4 separate regions of the Homo sapiens genome follow, and all the other regions are linked to region 1. Evidence: promoter capture Hi-C in human tissues and cell types (Jung and others, 2019). All regions are on one chromosome and are shown on one strand. The core of a region is centred on a gene start or on the middle of the fragment in contact, and the rest is flanking DNA. Distances in the headings are between cores, read along the strand shown.

Region 1 (4,685 bases), core at 1,722-4,221:
ACTGCTTAAATAATAAAAGTGTTATTTATGGTTTTTACACCATGACTGAACACACCAGATTTTCTAGGACAGTGTCAATTTCAAATGTATAGCTAAGTTTAGTTTCATTATTGTGCCTTTGTGTGATTTCACCTAGACAAAGGAATGAAATAGAAAACAAATATTTTGCTACATCCCTTGCCCTAGTTTTGAATTCCTAATATACGGTCACTGTCTCCTACTCATGCTGATATTTGGAAAGCCATTATGGAAAGGACTTCATTTTTTGAGGTCATGCCTCACAAGTAAAATGTGCATCCCACATCCTTTCATTTCCTTCAAATGCTTGAGGGAGGAGGAAGGTACTGGGTGAAGACCTGCCTCATTTTCCAGAGAGAACACAGAGAGCTTCGAGTGACTCTGGAGCTGCCGCATTTCACAGGCATTTCACAGTGGTTAGTCCTGAATTTTTAGCTCTTGGACTCCAGAGTGGGCCCCCTCCACACTCTGCTCTGCTGGAAGAGTAGTTGCAGTGGAATGAGGGTCGCATGAGGCTTAGGGCTGTGCACCCTGGATGCTTTGAATTGGGTTTTAGTAGTCAGCCCACTTATTGAGTGCTAGGTGCTATCTGTGGAGTGATAAAAATATGCATGATACCATCTCTGTCTTTACAGGGCTTGAAATGTATTTAGGGAAGCCAGGCATGTATGCATGAAATAGAAAGTCACCATACAAGGCAGTGGGGCACCTGCCATTTGCTGCAGAGGACGCAGCTGAAGATAAGGACTACAGCCATTCAAGGCCCCAGGGGAGGCCAGGGCAGGACTGGGACCAGAGCCTCACCAAAGACATGGAGATCCTAGGATAAGAAGGCTGAAGGGTTAGTTTCTGGATCATCTGAAATTTGATATTTTAAAAGCTTTCTTTAAAAGACGCTTTTATAATTCTCTCTTAAAAAATTCAGCCCATTTTGTCCTTTGCCATTTTTGAATTGGGTTATAGGTCTTGTACTTATTGATTTATAAAAGCTCTTTCATTTTAGAAACATTAATAATAAATATTTTACCTAGTTAAGAAAATTTAGCTGCCAAGTGATGTCTTTTCCATATGGTGACAAATACATTAAGGAGAGGGGAAGGTCAAAATTTGTGCTTTATGATTTCTTCTTAATTTTTAAAAATTTTTAATTTTATGGGAACATAGTGGGTGTATATATTTATGGGGTACACGAGATATTTTGATACAGGCATGCAATGTGTAATAATCACATTAGGGTAAATGGGGTATCTGGCACCTCAAGCATTTAGCATTTCCTTTTGTTACAAACAATCCAATTGTACTCTTTCAGTTATTTTAAAATGTACAATATGTTTTGCTGACTGTAATAACCCTGTTGTGCTGTCAAATACCAGATCCTATTCATTCTATCTAACTCTATTTTTGTACCTAGTAACCATTCCACCCCCGCCCCTTCCTAGCCTCTGGTAACCATCATTCTATTCTCTCTGTCCATGAGTTCAATTGTTTTAATTTTTAGCTCTCACAAATGAATGAAAACATGTGAAGTTTGTCTTTCCATGCCTGTTTTATTTCATTTAACAGAATGTCCTCCAGTTCCATCCATGGTGTTGTAAATGACAGGATCTCATTCCTTTTTATGGCTGAATAGTACTCCACTACGCATATGTACCACATTTTCTTCATCTAATTTATCTGTTGATGGACACTTACATTGCTTCCAGATCTTGTCTATTGTGAACAGAGCTGCAATAAACATGGCAGTGCAGGAATCTCTTCAAGATACTGATTTCTTTTTTGGGGGTATATACCTAGCAGTGGGATTGCTGGATCAGATGGTAGCTCTATATTTAGTTTTCTGACAAACCCCAATACTGTTCTCCATAGTGGCTGCATTAATTCACATTCTCACCAGCAATGTAGGAGGGTTCATTCTCTTTTCTTCACATCCTTGCCAGCATTTGTTATTGCCTGTCTTTTGGATAAAAGCCATTTTAACTAGGGTGAGACTTTATGATTTCTTGGTGAACAAGGAAAAGTGTTTAAGCTGTCCCCACCCTTTGATGGGTATGTTCTCTCTTCACGTGCGTAGGTTGTTGATGAAAGTCTAAGCGATTAATTTAAGCCATGTCAGAATAAACCAAAGTGAGGGTCCCAGCAGAATCATTCACTCTAGAATGCTCGGCTTTCTGGACCTCCCAGTGAGAACAGTGAGAAACTCCAGAGTTTTATGGATTTTAAGAATAGCTCTTCTGAGACTCTTTGGACAGGGTGCAAAGGAAAATTGTCTCCTCAGGTTGGGGGATGAGGGGGACTGTGAGATAAAGTACTGATAGATAAACTCCAGGTATGCACCTACTATGCTCCCCAAGCAATCTGCCATGTCCTTCACATGTCCTCCAGGGTGGCCCTGTGAAAAGCATTACTCCATCCCTTCAGCCCTCAACCTTGCTCGGCTTTCTAGAGTCTGTCTCATGCCGGCAGACACCCCATAGTTATTATTCTCTCTGCCCTCAGCAACATTTACCAGTTAGGGGGAAAATAAAGCCAGAAAATTGTTGCTATGGGCTCTGTTTTGTGGAAGTTAAAATGCTAGAGCAAGAATCTGATTGCTTGATAGCTCCATCTCTCTCTCTCTCTCCCTCCTACCCTCCTACCCCCCCACAGTTTCTCCTTCTTTTCCTCTCCCCTCCACCTCCTTCCCCCACCCCGCTCCCCCACATTTTCCTACTCCTCTCCCCTCTCTCCACTGGCCTCCCGGTCCTGCCCCCACATTGGGCTGGAGGAGAGCCTTACAGGTTGTCAATGAAACATGGAATTATTTCCTTTGATGGCTTAGATAATAGTAGGAGCCAAAGCAATGAGTGAGGTCGGCTGAAACCAATGCAGTCCTGCCCGGGACTGGAGAGCCAATCGCAAGAGCAGAGGGCGGGGCGTCGGAGCCAGCAGATAATTGCTAAGTGCATCGCTAGCACAGTTGGTCCGAGCTGCCGAAAGGTCTGGTCGCAGAGACAGGAACGTGTAATCCTCAGCGTGCTCCAGCCCACAGCTTCGCTCTACTGCTCGGCAGGGCAGCTGGCCTCTGGGCACCGGCGGCCCCTCTGCCTCGCGGAAAAGGTACCTCTGCCTGCGTCCCGGGGGTGCAGCGCCTGCGTCTCCATTGCCAGTGGCTTTGCAGTTTAGCCTAGGTGGAGGGATTGCAGAAAGAAAAGTTTCTGGGAGGGAATGTGATAAAGGTGGGAAATCACTGTCTTTTGTTGGGAGGAAAACAAGCGGACAATTTGGGAAACTTCTGCGCTGGCAAGAAATGGGCTTGTTTACTACTCCTAATTAGCTGCGCTCAGGTCTGTCTAAATAGGTCTGGTCTCAGGCTAGGGTGTCTGCAGGGCTGGGGTGGAGATTCGGGTGTGCTGGGTGAAAGAAGTTGGATCCCAGGGTGTGCTGTTTCCTGGTGCACCCATCATGGATAGGCTGGTTCCGAGAGAAACGTGATTGGTTGTTTGTGTTTTCCGCTATAGGGTCTGTCCCCTTCGTATTACCTTGATCTGCCTTCCCCAAACTATTGTGACCTTCAACTGGAGTCCTTCCTCAAACTTCTGCCTCCTTCCTGCCTGTCTCAGTTCATTTTATTTGGTGGAAGGAGACATTCCCCGGGGTGGGTGGGTGAGGATGGTCTATTCTGTTTGACCTGGTGGGCACCTACGTGACAACTTGGTGACACGCCAGCAAAACAGTTCTCAGAGGAGAGGAAATCACATAATTAATTAGCTCCCGAAAACTCTGGAAGACTTTCCAGGCTTGGGGTATCCTGAAAAAAAAAAAAAAAGAAAAAGCCAAAAAACGGGATAGAGAGTTCGGTTTGGTACCATGTGAAGCTTACACCCTTGTCCCCAGAAGGGGTGCCTGGCCCGGAGCATCCCCGCAGCTCTGGGAGGTGGAGGCTGGTGGAGGGGGTGGCTCCGTGTAGGTGCGCAGGTTGTTTTGGTGCACAGGTGCATTTGTGGCAGAGGTGGTGCTGAAGTCACCATCCACACTGCTTCTGCTAACTGCTCTTGAAGTAAAACAGCTCACCCCGGCAGGCAGCTGGTTCAGCCCAGAAGCACCCTTGAGCATTCTAAATCGCGAGACCTCAGGGGCCTCTCTTGCTCTGAGACCCTTGGGAAACTCCTTTCTCCCCCTGCCTCCTCCGCCTTTGGCTTCTGCTAAAGGGAGATATTAGGTAGGTGAGTCACTAGGAAGCAGGGACCCATGGGGAAGCAGGCGATGTGCTTGGTCTCGAACTTTCTTCCTCTTCTGCGAAGGCAGCTTCTGCTTGTGTGCCCACCGCACTTCACCAGTTGCGCTGCCTACCTGCGGGATACTCTGAAGCTGATAGTCTGGGGGTGATCTTCCAAGTCCTAGGGGCATTGAAGAGTTTAGATGATTTTCATCCCTCTGATTTCCGTTAAACCCGCAGCTGGGGAGTTCGATTCCCAGTCCTGACAAGACTGCATGTTCTGGGAGGGATTCTCCAGTGACACCTCTTCCTCAGGGCACCCTTCCACGGAGATGCAGATGACAGTCTTGATTCTCCAGCTCCACAAATCCCTTCCACTTTTTAATTCTTATTTTCTTTAACCACCACAACAGATTCTCCTCCACCTCCTGTAGGCAGCTATTTTGGGTGGGAACTGTGATTATTGAAACTC
Region 2 (4,665 bases), core at 609-3,108, 71 kb after region 1:
CAGACTCCTACGGGCCTGCTTGGTCCGACACGTACCTTGAATATCCTTTCACAGTGTTTGATTTTTGCAGTTGGTTGTATAATGAGGAAGGAGTGTGCAGTGAGTTTGGAGATTCCTATTAACCAGGTCATCCGTGAATCTATTTTTGTGTGCTTCTTCATTAGAAATAGCAGGGAACATGATAATATTTAAACACAACCACTTATAGGAGCTTGGCTTAAAAAATATACCTTAGTAAGTTTTCTTTTCCCATTAGACATTTCAAAATGTTGTACTCCAGTTCTTCATCATCAAAACATCTTTTCTTCATTTACATTCTGGGACATGAATGGAGACCATTACAAATGACTATGATATTGTGGGTTGGCACTGGAATTGGCAATCCTTTGCCTCATGTAGACCATCTCCGGAGTGCCCGCATTCTGTTCTTGGTCTTGCTTTTGAAGATGGACTATAATGAAATAGACTCAGGGCAAGATGATGAGGCTGGGTAGGACTTGGAAGTAGATAGAAGAGTGTTATCTTCAGACACTCAAGGGAGGATATCTCATGAAAAAATGGAGACTGGTGTGGTGCCATGTTGTACCTAATGACAGAATCACTGAATGAAAACTACGGTGGGACAGATTTTAATTCAACCTAAGAAAAACTTAACAACTAGAGCTTCTGCCCTCTCTGGAACAGGTTGCCTTGTGGGGGAGGAGGTGAACCTGCAGGCACAGCAGGTGCTAGACTCCAGGCCAATTGGGCCACCTGCCAGGTGTGGTCCTTTTTGAAATAACAGGCCCATATCAACCATGAGACACAGTGGTACCTGGCATAACTATTGCTTGCTGGGGGCATTGAAAAACCACAGGCATTATTGTCTCTTAGGAGCAGAAACTGTGAATCCTTTTGAATTGCTGAAGACAAATGCCCTGAATGAGCCACTAGAGCCAGGGCCAAGGACAGAACGTGAGATTGGAGTACTTGAGGCAGACATCCTTTTATTTCAGGCAGATACTTTATGAATGTGGTCTGGTTATTTAGATCATTTCAAAAATCACCTAAAGTGAACCACAGTTCACTTTACTTTACACAGTTCACTGTTGCATTGTTCAGGACTTGGCCAACATCTTGCCAACATCAGGATGTTATTAAAAATATACTACTGATCCCTTTCAAATGCAGAGAGTTTTACGGTTGATATAGCACTTTCTCATATATTTCTCCCTGTGATCTTCACTATCACTTTCTTAGAAGGCATGGTAAATATTATTATCTCAATTTTTATATGGGGGAAACTGAGGTATGGAGCATTGAGTGACTCATCCAATGCCATGTGGTAGCATCAGACCTAGGATGGATCTAGCTTGTGGAAATTGGAATCATGCAAGCGAGGCCATATTTTTGGCTATGCAAATGACTAGCAATGTAACTTTGGACTGTCTTATAGGTAAGATGATGGTGGTGAAATAAGATAAAGTCCAAAGTGCCTACCATATTGCTGTTGTCTGAGATTCTTTTGCCTCTTCATACAGCATGCTGTCTGCCATGGTCTTTACTTCTTGCTTGACGGGTAGGAGGTGAAACAAGTGGAGTTTGTGGGCTGGGTGAAGGAATCGGATGCACTGGGGTGTGTTTCCAGGGTGGTAACATGAGATCCTTCAGCTGCCATAAGATCCGTTTCCGACAGATCGCTTTCAGAAGCTTGAGATCCTTGGCTGCATTTTGATTCCGGGTTTGGAATTTGAGAATATGTTTATTTACTTTGTGGGATCATTTGTGGTGTGCGGTGGTGGAGGTGGCCTTTATGAATTCAACCACCCTAAATGGAGAAGAGTCAGCTTGAATAGTGAGGTCTCCCCGTGTTGCAAAGTATGGGGTTACAAGGAAAGTTATAGTTTAGTCTGATTGTATTTTTTAATTTTCTAAGTGCAACTATTTAACTCTAAACTAGATTTTATACCGCTTAAAGGCTCTAGACAAAGCTAACTTCTTCCTTGACTACAAAAGTAATATGTGATTGTTGAAGAAAAATTTAAAAATGAAGAAAATTGCAAAAGCAATTTTCTGTCATTTCCCAAAGATAAGTGCTATTAAAATTATGTTATAATTTCCTGGAATGTTTTTTAATGCATCTATACATATTTTAAAACAAATTTTGTATAATGCTATATGTACTTAAAAATCTCTTTTGTTAATGGTAAACCTTTTCCTAATGTTCCCTGAAAGAATAATTTATCTGAATTTGGATTTGGAAGCCACATAGTTTTCTAGTGTGATGATATATCAAAGTTCATTTAACCCACTTTCTATTGTTGGATATATTAGGTGCTTACAACATTTAATTAACATATAAATATATATAACATGCAAAAATATCTCACATAAATCCTTTTTAAGAATTTTTAGTTTTGTAGAGACAGAATCTCTCTATGTTGCCCATGCTGGTCTCAAACTCTTGGCCTCAAGTGATGCTCCCACCTCGGCCTCCCAAAACACTGGGACTACAGGCGTGAGCCACGGTGCCCTGCCCTCACATAAACTCTTGACAAGGCATTAGATATAAGTCTGGCTTGTTCAACAGAAAAACTATAGCTGGATTTCTATTTTTTAGGGTAAAGCAACTCTGTTGGGCATTTGTGAGAAAACTATAACCTATGCACATATTATGGTTAATCGATATGATAACGTCAAGAGTGTAGGGAGATCCACCCCTCTGTCACCATTGTCAGACCTGTTACTGTGATCCTGGCTTTTCATACGGTTAATATCTTGCATAAACATCAAAGCAGTGGACTCATTTTTCTTTTCTGTTGATTCTCTTGTAGCCTGATGAAGTCCTCCGATATTGATCAGGATTTATTCACAGACAGTTACTGCAAGGTGTGCAGTGCACAGCTGATCTCCGAATCGCAGCGTGTGGCCCACTACGAGGTAAGGACAGCGTTTCCCACTCTGTTTGCAAATGTAGGAGGGAGCAGCCCGGGTCATTGTTGTAGGACTCCAGGATCCTCCTTCTGGACTTGGGGCACATTTGAAGAACCACAGGACTTGAGCCTGTACAGTCTGAGGTCAAGGCCAGGACAAGTGTATATGTGTGGGGTTGGGAGTGAGGGTTGGGGATGTCATTGTCAGACTCTGGCTGCTTCCCAGATCCTTTTTTTAAAATTTGTATCTCAGCCCCTGGAGACTCTGCTTGGGCTTTCTCTACTTGTTAAATCTGTCACTGTGCATCCACAAAGTTCCTTTCAGGGATCCAGGGTGCAATGCATTGTGCCAGCTCCTGTCTCCACCTATGACCCCAAAGATAAGCTCAGAAGACCTTTGTTAAACACTGTAGGGAAAGACAGCAGCAAGTAATGAAGCAGCCGTGGGCCACTTCCTCCCTGAAAATTTCTTCCACCTGATGGCCAATACCCAACATGTGCTTATCACAATCAAGATGCCTTCTGCAGAGTTATAACCAAGTCTTAAAGTGCAAATACTCTTCAAAGTCATAAATTAGTGGCACTGGCTGTTTAGAATCGGGGAGCAACAGACCACTTTTTGATCCTCTATTGGGAGCAGAGGATGAGAGGAGAGAGGTTGGCCTGTGTCCGAGGATGAGGAAGAAATGAGGTGCTGTGGATTGAGTAAAGAGAACTGGGAGATCCCAGGATGCTGAGAGCTACTAGGGCATGTTCTGTTTTCAAAAGAACATATACTAGTAGGAACATGAATTTCTTTATTTTCTTTCTTTCTTTTCTTTCTTTCTTTTTTTCTTTTCTTTCTTTCTTCTTTCTTTCTTTCTTTCATTCTTTCTTTTCTTTCTTTCTTTATTTTTCTTTGCTTTCTTTCTTTCCTTTCCTTCCCTTCCTTCCTTCCCTTCTTCCTTTCTTTTTTTCTTCCTTTCTTTCTTTCTGAGATAGCGTCTCACTCAGTCATCCAGGCTGGAGTGCTGCGGCATCCCAAGATGCTGAGAGCTACTAGGGCATGTTCTGCTTTCAAAAGAACATATACTAGTAGGAACATGAATTTCTTTCTTTTCTTTTCTTTCTTACTTTCTTTCTTTCTTCTTTCTTTTTGAGACAGGGTCTCACTCAGTCATCCAGGCTGGAGTGCTGTGGCACGAGCATAGCTCACTGCAGCCTCCACCTCCTGGGCTCAAGCGATCCTCCCACCTCAGCCTCCTGAGCAGCTGGGACTACAGGCACATGCCACTGCACTCAGCTAATTTTTTACTTTTATTTTTAGTAGAGACTGGGTCTTGCTAAGAACATGAGTTTCCAAGTGTAAGAACTTGTAAGTAATTTTATATTGGAAGGCTTATCCAGCAATTTTCTTTTTGTCTGACAAGTCTGACAAATGCCAGTTGTCACTATCATTCCTCAAACTCCTCTGGGCCTCAGATTCCTCTGTGCACAATAAAAATAACTATAATAACACACACACATACGCACCCAGAAAGACAGTCAATGGGCCCTGCATACTCCTCAGGATTTTGTGGTGACCAAATGAGATCTATCGAAATTGTACCTGTGAAAATGCTTTGGAAGCTGTGAAGTCTATCAAATATGCAAAGTTATATGCTTATTCATCATTAATTCCTTTGCAGCAATGTTTTGATGAAAGCAAATGTTTGATGAAAACTTTTAAAATCAGCACCTGTGAAAAAATTCGTATAGTCATTGTTAAAAGGCA
Region 3 (5,193 bases), core at 2,647-5,146, 77 kb before region 1:
GGCTTGTGGATTTGGCATTATCAAAAGTGGATTGTTCAGCTGATGGTCAAGAAATGGGTATCATGGGCCAGGCACAGTGGCTCATGCTTATAATCCCAGCACTTTGGGAGGCCAAGGTGGGTGGATCACCTGACGTCAGGAGTTCGAGACCAGCCTGGCCACATGGTGAAACCCTGTCTTTACTGAAAATACAAAAATTAGCTCGGCATGGTGGCAGAATCCCAGCTACTTGGGAGGCTGAGGCAGGAGAATTGCTTGAACCCAGGAAGCGGAGTTTGCAGTGAGCCGAGATCACACCACTTCACTTCAGCCTGGGTGACAGAGCGAGACTCCATCTCAAAAAAAAAAAAAAAAAAAGATATCATGGTTGGAAATTTATCTTACATGATATCTCCATAACTTCACATTCCAGCCTCTAAGTCCTGCCAAATTTTGAACAGTGACAAAACCAAAACATTGCTTCACCGTTGTACTAAATTCTTCAGCGAAGTTTTTCAAGAGCAAATTCCCCAGCTGCTGCAATCTTCGGCACACAGCACATTGGCTCTCTCAACTGTGGGCATTTCAGGGGACAGCCAATGAGTTTGGCACACAGAACCACACTGGAATCCACACTGAAACTGCATCTTTTCTGCGTCAGTCATAAATAGCAAAACTTAAAAGGGGGATTGCAGTGTTATTACCAGCAAGAGTGTTGACAGTGTCACATCCCTGTTAATAGCATTCCAAAAATTGGGGTTTTATTTTGGACATTGAAATTCTTTTCAGCACTATAAAAAAAGTCACATGGAAAAGCAACATAGGCCGGGCATGGAGGCTCACACCTGTAATGCCCACACTTTGAGAGGGTGAGGCAGGAATATTGCTTGAGGCCAGTAGTTCAAGATCAGCCTGGCCAACACAGCGAGACCCTGTCTCTGTTTAAAAAAGAAAGAAAGAAAAGCAAGGTAGATGTTTGACAAAGAGCAATTAGGTTTTATGGTCAGGTAAGGGAGAAGGATTCCAGCATGCTGGAAAAAGGCAGGGCAGGAGGCAGAGAGGGTAAGAAAGCCTGCAAAGGTCCATCCTTATTCATCCGTGTAATGCAAACAAAAGTTGTCTGGGGCTGACTGGAGAGGGGACTGTGTGTGATGGGATCTAATTGAAAACCCTGACAAATGAAGCTCATGACTGGCAGGACTAAATGAACAAACATCTTCTTAGGCAGCTCTTATTATCTTTGAGATTTTTTTTTTTATTCCCTTTCCAAGATAGAAAGTGCTCTCCTGGCTGGGGTACTTGACAATGATTCACCCTGGGCTAATGTTCACTGGGACCAGGGATTTATTTGAAAGAGGTGCTCAGAAGGAACTGCCTGGTTTCAGACAGGAGCACTTAGACTTCTCTGAAGGGAAATGGAATATGTGCCACCTGAGGTTTGCTCTCAATCCACTCACAGGTTTGAGAATCCTTGGATATGTGGCTTGAGTCCCAGGAAATACACCTGGAATTTGGCACTCCTGCCATTGTTGAAGCACAAGCAGGGGCCTCTTGCAGAGATCACTGGATGCCAGGAGAGAGCATCCCACTTGGAAAGCAATCGATCCATGCTTTGTCTTACCTTAAACTTAATTTAGAGTTATGGAATTCTTGTTAGTGCAAAATGTGCACAGTGTCCCTGAGTTGCTGAGTAGACCTGGGAAGAATGTGGTTTGGGTCAATCTGGAGTCCCTTGTTAAAGACTAATTTTGGGGGGATTTTCCAGGTTTTAATAGTTGTGTCTCTATCAAAGATAGAGGTTCCTGAAATTAAAATTTAGAATCTGTGAGGGGCCTTGTGGAGTAGCCAGGGGAGGTGGTGAATCTTCTTGAATCCCTATGAGCATTTTTGGCTCAAGACAGGTGAAATTTGATCACCTCTGGAAATCAAGTAGCCTTAAGATATTATAATGTTGTGAAATTCAGATTTTATATCAGTTTGTGGGAAATCTTCCTCCCAGTGTTTCTGAGTCTGTCTTCTCACCTGTCAAATGGGAATAATAAGAGCACTTCCCTCATTCAGTTGACTTAGATGATGTGAGGCTTGGACACAATAGCTTAAGGGAAGGCAGAACACCTAGGATGTAGTAAGTGCTCACAACGATGTCTTATTTCCAAAGGGAAAGTCATCAGGCTTGGAGTTAAGAAATTGACATAAGAAATATAAGAATATAATATAATATAACATAATATTAAAAACTTTCGGTTTTCTCATTCATATAATGGAATCAAAACACCTGCCTGGCTGACCTCACAGGGTTGCTTTGAGAATCAAATGAGATCCTGTAGGTGAAAACACAGATGAATGAGAAAATGCAATGCACATCTGGAAAATTAGTAAGCAAGCCTTTCAATGTCCTCTCACCTCCCCACAGAGTCACATTCCTTTGGCCACATGGAACTTTTCCTTCTCATTTTCTTGTATGTAATTTAAGAAAATTCCCCTTCCATACTATTTGAGCTATGAACAACCCCCTTTGTCATAGACAGGAGCTACCTGGTGCTTCTTCCAAAAGGGAGCTAGTGAGGGGCAGGAGGCGGTGACCCCGAGGGGAGCAGGAGGCTGGCAGCCCCTCTGGGCATGTGGCCACCATTGGTTTATCCCTGGACCCACCCAGGCTTCTTGGGTTCTGGGTCCCTCGGCACCTGGAGGGTTCAGTCATAGTTGGGGGCAGTGATATAGTTTGGATATTTTTCCCTGCCCAAATCTCATGTTGAAATATAATCCCCAGTGTTGGAGGTGGGGTCCAGTGGTAGGTGTTTGGGTCATGGAGGCAAATCCCCCATGGCTTTGTGCTGTTTCCATGATAGTGAGTGAATTCTGGCGCGATCTGCTTGTTTAAATGTGTTTGGCACCCCCTAGCCCACCGACTCACACTCTTTTGCTCTCGCTTTCACCATGTGAGGTGGTGGCTCCCTTTTCACCTTCTGTCATGAGTACAAACTCCCAGAGGCCTTTCCAGAAGCCAAGCAGGTGCCACCGCCATGCTTGTACAGCATGCAGAACTGTGAGCCAATTAAACCTCTTTTCTTTATAAATTACCCAGCCTCAGGTATTTCTTTATAGCAACATAAGAACAGCTAACACAAGCAGCTTAATAGCTCACCAGATGACTGTGGAAACCTCCATTTCGAGAGCACAAGGAGGGCCGGGCACGATGGCTCATGCCTGTAATCCCAGCACTTTGGGAGGCCAAGGTGGGCAGATCACTTGAGGTCAGGAGTTTGAGACCAGCCTGGCCAACATGGTGAAACCCCATCTTTACTAAAAATACAAAAATTAGCCTGGTGTGGTGGCATGCATCTGTAATCCCAGCTACTTGGGAGGCTGAGGCAGGAGAATTGCTTGAACCTGGGAGGTGGAGGTTTCATTGAGCCAAGATTGAGCCACTGAACTCAGGCCTGGGTGACAGAGAGAGACTCTGTATCAAAAAAAAAAAAAAAGTACTCAAAGCACAAGGAAGCGTTTTTCAGGGCTCTGTGTCTGTAGGAGTTAGGGCTGGTCTGGGGGAGGGCAGTGCTCATGGGTACCTAGGCACTGACCTACCTTTTAGAACTGTTTGGATTCTTTCCAAAGAGACAGCCCCAGCACCAATACCTTAGCTACATGTGGACATTCCTGTGGGACAGTGGGACCGCTGAGCGTGCCGCTGGGTCCTCACATGGTCCACTCTGTGGATGGTACTGGGCAAGTTTGATAAGGCTTCAGCATGAGTCGCCTTCCACCTGAATCTGTGTCCCCAAGAGCAGCCTTTCCTTGTAGGTCAGAGTCTCCCCAGCATCTGAGAACCAGGCCTTGATTTGATGAAACTCTAAAGAGTTCTGTTCTTTCCTGGCCCCAGAAGGATTACAATTCATTTCTGTCGATCTCTGACACCATCAGATTCCTCCTACCCCAGGTGTAGAACTGCCAGTCCCCAAAATACAGATGTATTCTAAATGATCAGTCAATGAGCTCTCTGTTCATCAGGAGTGTAGGGCATCTGCTGTGTTAACTAAGTCTCTTTTGATTGTAAGCAACAGAAATAGACTTTAACTATTTGGTGGGTGGAGGGGAGATTCATTCGAAATGTCTCATAGCTGGAGACTGCTGGCATCAGCCAAAGCTGTTCTTCCTTCTTCCATAGCAACGGAGTTGAAGCAGGGTGTGGCTGCCCAGCCAAGGACATGGCCCAGCCCCACTCGTGCAGCTAGGTGTGGCTGATGTTCAAGTTCCTGCCAGGGAGCATGAGCAGAAGTTTTAGGTGTCACTTCCAGGCCTTGCCCCAAAGACTTTGCAGGTTCACTTCTGCATCTTTTCCCCTCCTTGTTTCTGGCTGGAATCATTTCAGCCCCAGCTGCTCTGACAGGCACTTAGTGTTGAAGGAGGCAGAGCTGCTGGCGGTCAGGGCCGATAAATGACTGCATGGAACCGAGCAGTCCCGATGGACTGTTATTTGCAATAAATAAACATGGAGTTTGTTTGAGCCATTACATTTGGGGGCCCTTTGTTTTAGCAGTTTAACCTTTACCCTAATGATTTCAGGGGACTGAATTGAAAGAATTGCTGAATAACTAAGCCTCAGGAAGGCAGGGATGGGGCAGCTTTGATGTCTCAAGCGACAGGATTTATAGAGCTAACTCTCTCAGATGCTGCCAGGAAGCCAGCTCTCTTTATTGTCTGTCACTACTGTGTCCTTCCATTCAAGTTTCAGATTCTCACAAGATGATTTGGCTGACCCAGCTTGGGTCAGGTGTCTATGCTGGGATCTATAAGCTATGGCCGGAGAGAGCAGGTGCTTATGGAAATGTGAACACTGAGGCCCTTCACCTCTTGCTTTTTACAGTCTTTTCTGGAAATGGGAACACTGAGCAAGTGTGTCTCATACCATGTATATGTCAGAATCAGATGAGGCAATGCACACAGAGGGAGGACCAGGAGTTTGGATTTCAGTGGGGGAGACAGGGAATTGAATAGACAATTATAAAGAGGTAAGAGTTAGGTTTCAGATTTTCATGGGCTATCATGAGAGCTCAAAGGAGAGGCAACTAACAGGTTAGAAGAAGGGGTGTAGGAAGTCTATATTGTTTGAAAGTGGGCTTGCTCTCTTGGAAGAGGTCAGGCCGACTGGAGCTAAAATATCAGCACCAGTGAGTGGCCTGGGGTCAGCTACTCAGATATTTAACCATTCTGAAC
Region 4 (5,125 bases), core at 2,160-4,659, 98 kb before region 1:
ACACCACTCATAGAAATACACATTCTTCTCAAGCATACATAGAACATTCACAAGGATTGGCTATATATTAAATCACAAGTAAACCTCAATAAATACCACGAAGTAGAACTAACATAAATAACATACTCTAATCACAATGCCACAAAATTGAATAACAAAATCAAAAGTGTAGAAGAGCCTTCTGCCTGCCAATTAAAACAAACAAACAAACAAACAAACAAACAAAGAACTTTATATACAAGCACATTTAGGACAAAGTGGGAACTACAAATCAAAATTGTAGAATTTCTAAAAAATAAAAAAAATAAGGAACATCACCATCAACATTACAGAAATAAAAAATATTACATACAAACAGTTTGAAAAACTGTTGCCAACAAATTAGATAATCCAGAAGTAAATGAACAAATTTCTAGAAATACAAAAATGACCAAAACTAACCTAAAAAAGAATACAGAATCAAACATACCTATAACAAATAAAGTGATTGAATTGGTAATTTAAAAACTTCTTGCAAAGAAAAGTCCAAGTCAAGGTGGCATTACTGGAAAATTCTACCTAACATTTTTTTAAAAATTGACACCAATCATTCACAAAGTCTTCCAAGAAATAAAAGAGGAGAGAACTCTTTCCAACTCATTTAATGAGGCCAGTATTATCCTGAAACTGTAACCAGACAAAAACATGACAGAAAATGATAAATCAATATTGAATAAAGAACAAATCCCACTGATCACCTCAATAGACACAGAAAAATTATTTCACAAAATTCAACACATTTTCAGGATGAAAATACTCAATGAACTAGGAAACGGAGGGAACTTTCACAACCAAATAAAGGCCATCTGTATAAAAACCACACCTCATCTCATACTTGAAGGTGAAAGATGGAATGCTTTTCTCCTATGATCAGGAACAAGACAAAGATGTCTACTCTCATCACCTCTTTTGAATATTGTAATGAAAATTCTAGCCAAAGCTATTAGGCAAGAAAAAGAAATAAAATCTATCCAGATTGAAAAAAAAGAAGTAAAACTAACCTATTTATAGATGATATGATCTTGTACAAAAATTTCTAAGGAATACACAAAAAATATTAGCACTAATAAATGTGTTCATCAGTGTTTCAGGATGCAAGATCAATGTCATAGGCAGAATGATGCTCCCCCAGTCCCAGAGATGTCCATGACCTAATCTCAGAACCTGTGAATATGTCAGGTTACATGTCCAAGGGGATTGAAGGTTGCAGAGTTGAATTAAGACTGCTAATCAGATGATTTTTAACATAGGGAGATTGCCTTGGATTATCAGGAGATCCAATGTAGAGATGAGGGTCCTTCCAAGTGGAGGATGGAGGCAGTGGAGGAGGTCAGAGTGATGGAACATGGCAAGGTGTGACCTTATGTGGAGGGAGGAAGGGACCATAAACCAAGAATCCAGAGACTGAAAAAGGTAAAACAAGAGTTTCTCCCTGACAGCCTCCAGAGAGAAATGTAGCCCTTCTGCCACCGATGAGACCATATTGGACCCTTGACCTGTAGAACTGTCAGATAATACATTTGCATTATTTAAAGCCCCAAGTTAGTGGTAATTTGTACAGCAGCAATAGAAAACTAATAACATGAGCATACAAAAATCAATTGTATTTATATACACCGACCGTGAACAATCTGAAAATGAAATTAAGGCAGCTATTTCATTTACAGTTGCATTGAAAATAATAAAATACTTAGAAACAAATTTACAAAAGGTGTGTAAGGCTTGTACATTGAAAATCAGGAAGTATTCTTAAAAGAAATTAAATAGAAGTCTGGGCATGGTGGCTCACACCTGTAATCCCAGCACTTTGGGAGGCAGAGGCAGGCAGATCACGAGGTAAGGAGATTGAGCCCATCCTGGCTAACACAGGTGAAACCCCGTCTCTACTAAAAATACAACAAAAATTAGCGAGGCATGGTGGCGGGCGCCTGTAGTCCCAACTACTTGGGAGGCAGAGGCAGGAGAATGGTGTGAACCCGGGAGGCGGAGCTTGCAGTGAGCTGAGATTGCGCCACTGCACTCCAGCCTGGGGGACACAGCAAGATTCTGTCTCAAAACAAAAAAAAAAAAAAAAAAAGAAAAAAGAAATTAAACAGAAAGATATCCTGTGTTTGTGGATTGGAAAACTTAATATTGCTAAGATAGCAATACTACCTAAATTGATCTACAGATTCAACACATACCTCTCAAAATACACTGGCTTCTTTGCAGAAATTAATGAAGTGATCCTCGTGTTCATATGGATATGCAAGGAACCCAGAGTAGCCAAAACAATTTTGAAAAAGAAGAACATAGTTGGAAGACTCGCATCCAAATTTCTAAACTTATACAAAACTACAGTAATCCATAGTGTAGTACTTGCATAAAGACAAACATAGACTAGTAGAAAATAACTGAGGACTCAGAAATAAATCCATAAATTTATAGTCAATTGAGTTTTGACAAGGATGCTAAGATAATTCAGCGGGGGAAAGAACAGTGTTTTAAACAAACGGGGTTAGGGCAATTGGGTATCCACATGCAGAAGAATAAAGTTGGACCCCTTACTTACACCATCGACAAAAATTAGCTCAAAATGGATCATATGGACAGGGATGATGGCTTATGCCTCTAATCCCAACCCTTTGGGAGGTTGAGCGGGGAGGATCACTTGAGGCTAGCAGACCAGCTTGGGCAACATAGCAAGACACCATCTCTACGAAAAATACAAAAGTTAGCTGGGTGTGGTGGCACATACATGTAGTCCCAGCTACTCAGGAGGCTGAGGTGGCAGAGTTGCTTGAGTGCAGGAGTTCCAGGCTGCAGTGAGCAGTGGTTGCATCATTGCACTCCAGCCTGGGCAACAGAGTACGAACCTCTCTCTCTTTCTCTTTTTTTTTTTCTCTCTCTCTCACACACACACACGAAAAAAAAAAGAAAAAGAAAAAAAAGAAATTGAGGGAAATAAAAGATTAAAATCCCGATAGAAAAATGAGAAAAATAATGAACAAAGAGTTCACAAAAATCATAAATAAGTGACCTCTAAGCTTATAAAAGATATACAACTTCACGGTAAAAAGAAGAATGCAAATTAAAACTGCGTGGGGATATCATTTCTCACCTATGGATTTGGCAAACATGCGAAAGATTTTTTAAAAGCACTCCTTTGGCAAGGCTGTGGGGAAACCGGCCCTGTCATACAGGGCTGATGAGCCTGCGAAATAGGACAGGTCCTAGGACGGGAAATTGGAAAACAGCAAACAGAAAATAGCATTTACAGTTTGACCAGCAACCCCACTTCTAAGAATTCTCTCTGAAAATGTATCTTTACTCATCACACGTTTAAAACAATCTGCTACGCATAAAGTTATTTATTACTGGAATTATTTGTAATGACAAACTGTTGGAAATGAACTAAAAGCCAATCCATAGGAGACTGGTTGAGTAAACTGTGGCTTATCCACATAATGGGAGACTGTTGACACCATCATGGAAATGAGGAAGATTTCTCTGAAAGAACACCGAGTCTTCTTCAAGATATATCATTAGCAGAAAAAAGAAAAATGTGAAAGTTGCATATGTTTTATTAACTTTTGTGTAAGAAACACGGGGAAACTAAATCGTGTGTGTGTGTGTGTGTGTGTGTACATTTGCTAATTTTTGCAAAGAAGAAATACAGGAAGGATAAACTTGATCCTAATAAAAGGGTGGATTTCCATGAATGACATGCTGGTGGTCTTGCATTTTTTTTTTTGTTTTTGAGACGGAGTCTTTCTCTGTTTCCTGTTCTGGAGTGCAGTGGCATGATCTCAGCTCACTGCAGCCTTGACCTCCCGGGCTCAAGTGATCCTCTCACCTCAGCCTCCTGAGTAGTGTGTGCCATCATGCCTGGCTACTTTTTGTACTTAGTGTGTAGAGATGAAGTCTTGCCATGTTGCCCAGGCTGGTCTCGAACTCCTGGCCTCAAGCTATCCTATCACCTCAGCCTCACAAAGTGCTGAGATTACAGGTGTGTCAGTGCCTGGCCTTTCTATTCTCTTCTTTTCTTTTTTTTGGTAGATTTGAAATTTTTAGAAAATAATGTTAAAAATTAAAAGAACAAAATCACCACAAAAGCCCAGCCTACCAGGGGTGTTATGTCAGGGAAGAGAAAGTGTCCTGAGGTTTTGCCTTGCTGATTGGCAAGGAAAGCAGCGTGGGGTGAACTGTTGTCATGTGTCTGGGGACAAACACTTTCTAAAATTAATCACCTGAGGGTCTGCTGCATTCATCAGCAACGTTCCTGCAGCAGTCATAAGTCTAGTCTCGGCTTCCCTCCCTCCCTCGGGCCTTTTGTCCTTCCTCCCTCTGTCTTTTTTTTTTCCCTTTTATTTAACATTTATTAGGTGCCTGTTATTTATCAGGGTCTGTGTTAGGCTCTAAGGATGCAGAGATGGAAGAGATACAGTTCCTTCCTTTAAGAGGCACATAATCTACGGGGGCAAATGGGGAAGCAACAGATAAGTATAATTCTCACTGGCATGCGCTGTAGGAGAGGAAATTGAGGGTGCTCTGAGAAACCAGGAGCGGGACTGTGTCTCTTTCATCTGATCCTCATCCACCAGGGCTGTCTCGGGGCCACCACCCTGATTCTTTGTACTGCAGGAAGAGTGCCAGCCACCCCAAAAGTGGACCACCAAGCCAGGTGGTCGGGAGGCATGTGCAGAAGTGTGTCCACTTGACCTCACAGGGTTCTCCCATATTTCCTGCAGGTTCCCTGCAGAACCTTTCCCTCAGCTTTTTCACTTGGGACTCGGGTTCCGTCCTGCACGGCCTGTGCTGGCCCATCCCTCATTTCCTCAGAGACAACTCTGGCCTGTCTATGGTGCCTCTCCTAGCTGATCTGAAAGGGGGCTTGGAGGTGATCGCAGCAGTGGCAGAGCCCCCCTACAGAGGGAACTACCCTGCTACCTTCCAGATAGGGTCTCCGGAGACGTTACCTCCTTTGTCTATTACTTATATATAGAGAGAACACAGCACAAGAAGTGGTAAACATCCCCACCATCCTGTTGCTTTTCCTTTCCCTTTTGTTTGTTAAAAAAAAAAAAAAAAGAAGAAGAAGAAGGAA

What was found. The method cuts DNA at HindIII sites, captures the fragments that hold promoters and counts their contacts. A contact is called where the count stands out against the background at its distance.
Region 2: a contact is called between a fragment that was not itself captured here and the fragment with the promoter of ZMAT4 in region 1, in 2 of the 25 tissues and cell types used here (dorsolateral prefrontal cortex and pancreas).
Region 3: a fragment that was not itself captured here is called in contact with the fragment with the promoter of ZMAT4 in region 1 in 4 of the 25 tissues and cell types used here (H1 embryonic stem cells, bladder, heart right ventricle and 1 more).
Region 4: a fragment that was not itself captured here is called in contact with the fragment with the promoter of ZMAT4 in region 1 in 2 of the 25 tissues and cell types used here (hippocampus and thymus).

What each region holds. Positions count from the first base shown.
Region 1 is chr8:40,896,112-40,900,796 of GRCh38, reverse strand. It overlaps ZMAT4 (zinc finger matrin-type 4), which reads left to right and starts at 2,971. Exons shown (of 7, transcript NM_024645.3): 1 at 2,971-3,114. The HindIII fragment of the contact is 9,161 bases long and covers 1-4,685 here.
Region 2 is chr8:40,823,829-40,828,493 of GRCh38, reverse strand. ZMAT4 (zinc finger matrin-type 4) reads left to right here. Exons shown (of 7, transcript NM_024645.3): 2 at 2,814-2,919. The coding sequence starts at 2,818. Among named protein-coding and RNA genes, the nearest start is that of ZMAT4, 72 kb to the left of the region's middle. The HindIII fragment of the contact is 5,149 bases long and covers 1-4,432 here.
Region 3 is chr8:40,973,688-40,978,880 of GRCh38, reverse strand. No RefSeq gene overlaps it. Among named protein-coding and RNA genes, the nearest start is that of ZMAT4, 78 kb to the right of the region's middle. The HindIII fragment of the contact is 6,467 bases long and covers 663-5,193 here.
Region 4 is chr8:40,994,229-40,999,353 of GRCh38, reverse strand. No RefSeq gene overlaps it. Among named protein-coding and RNA genes, the nearest start is that of ZMAT4, 99 kb to the right of the region's middle. The HindIII fragment of the contact is 6,921 bases long and covers 1-5,125 here.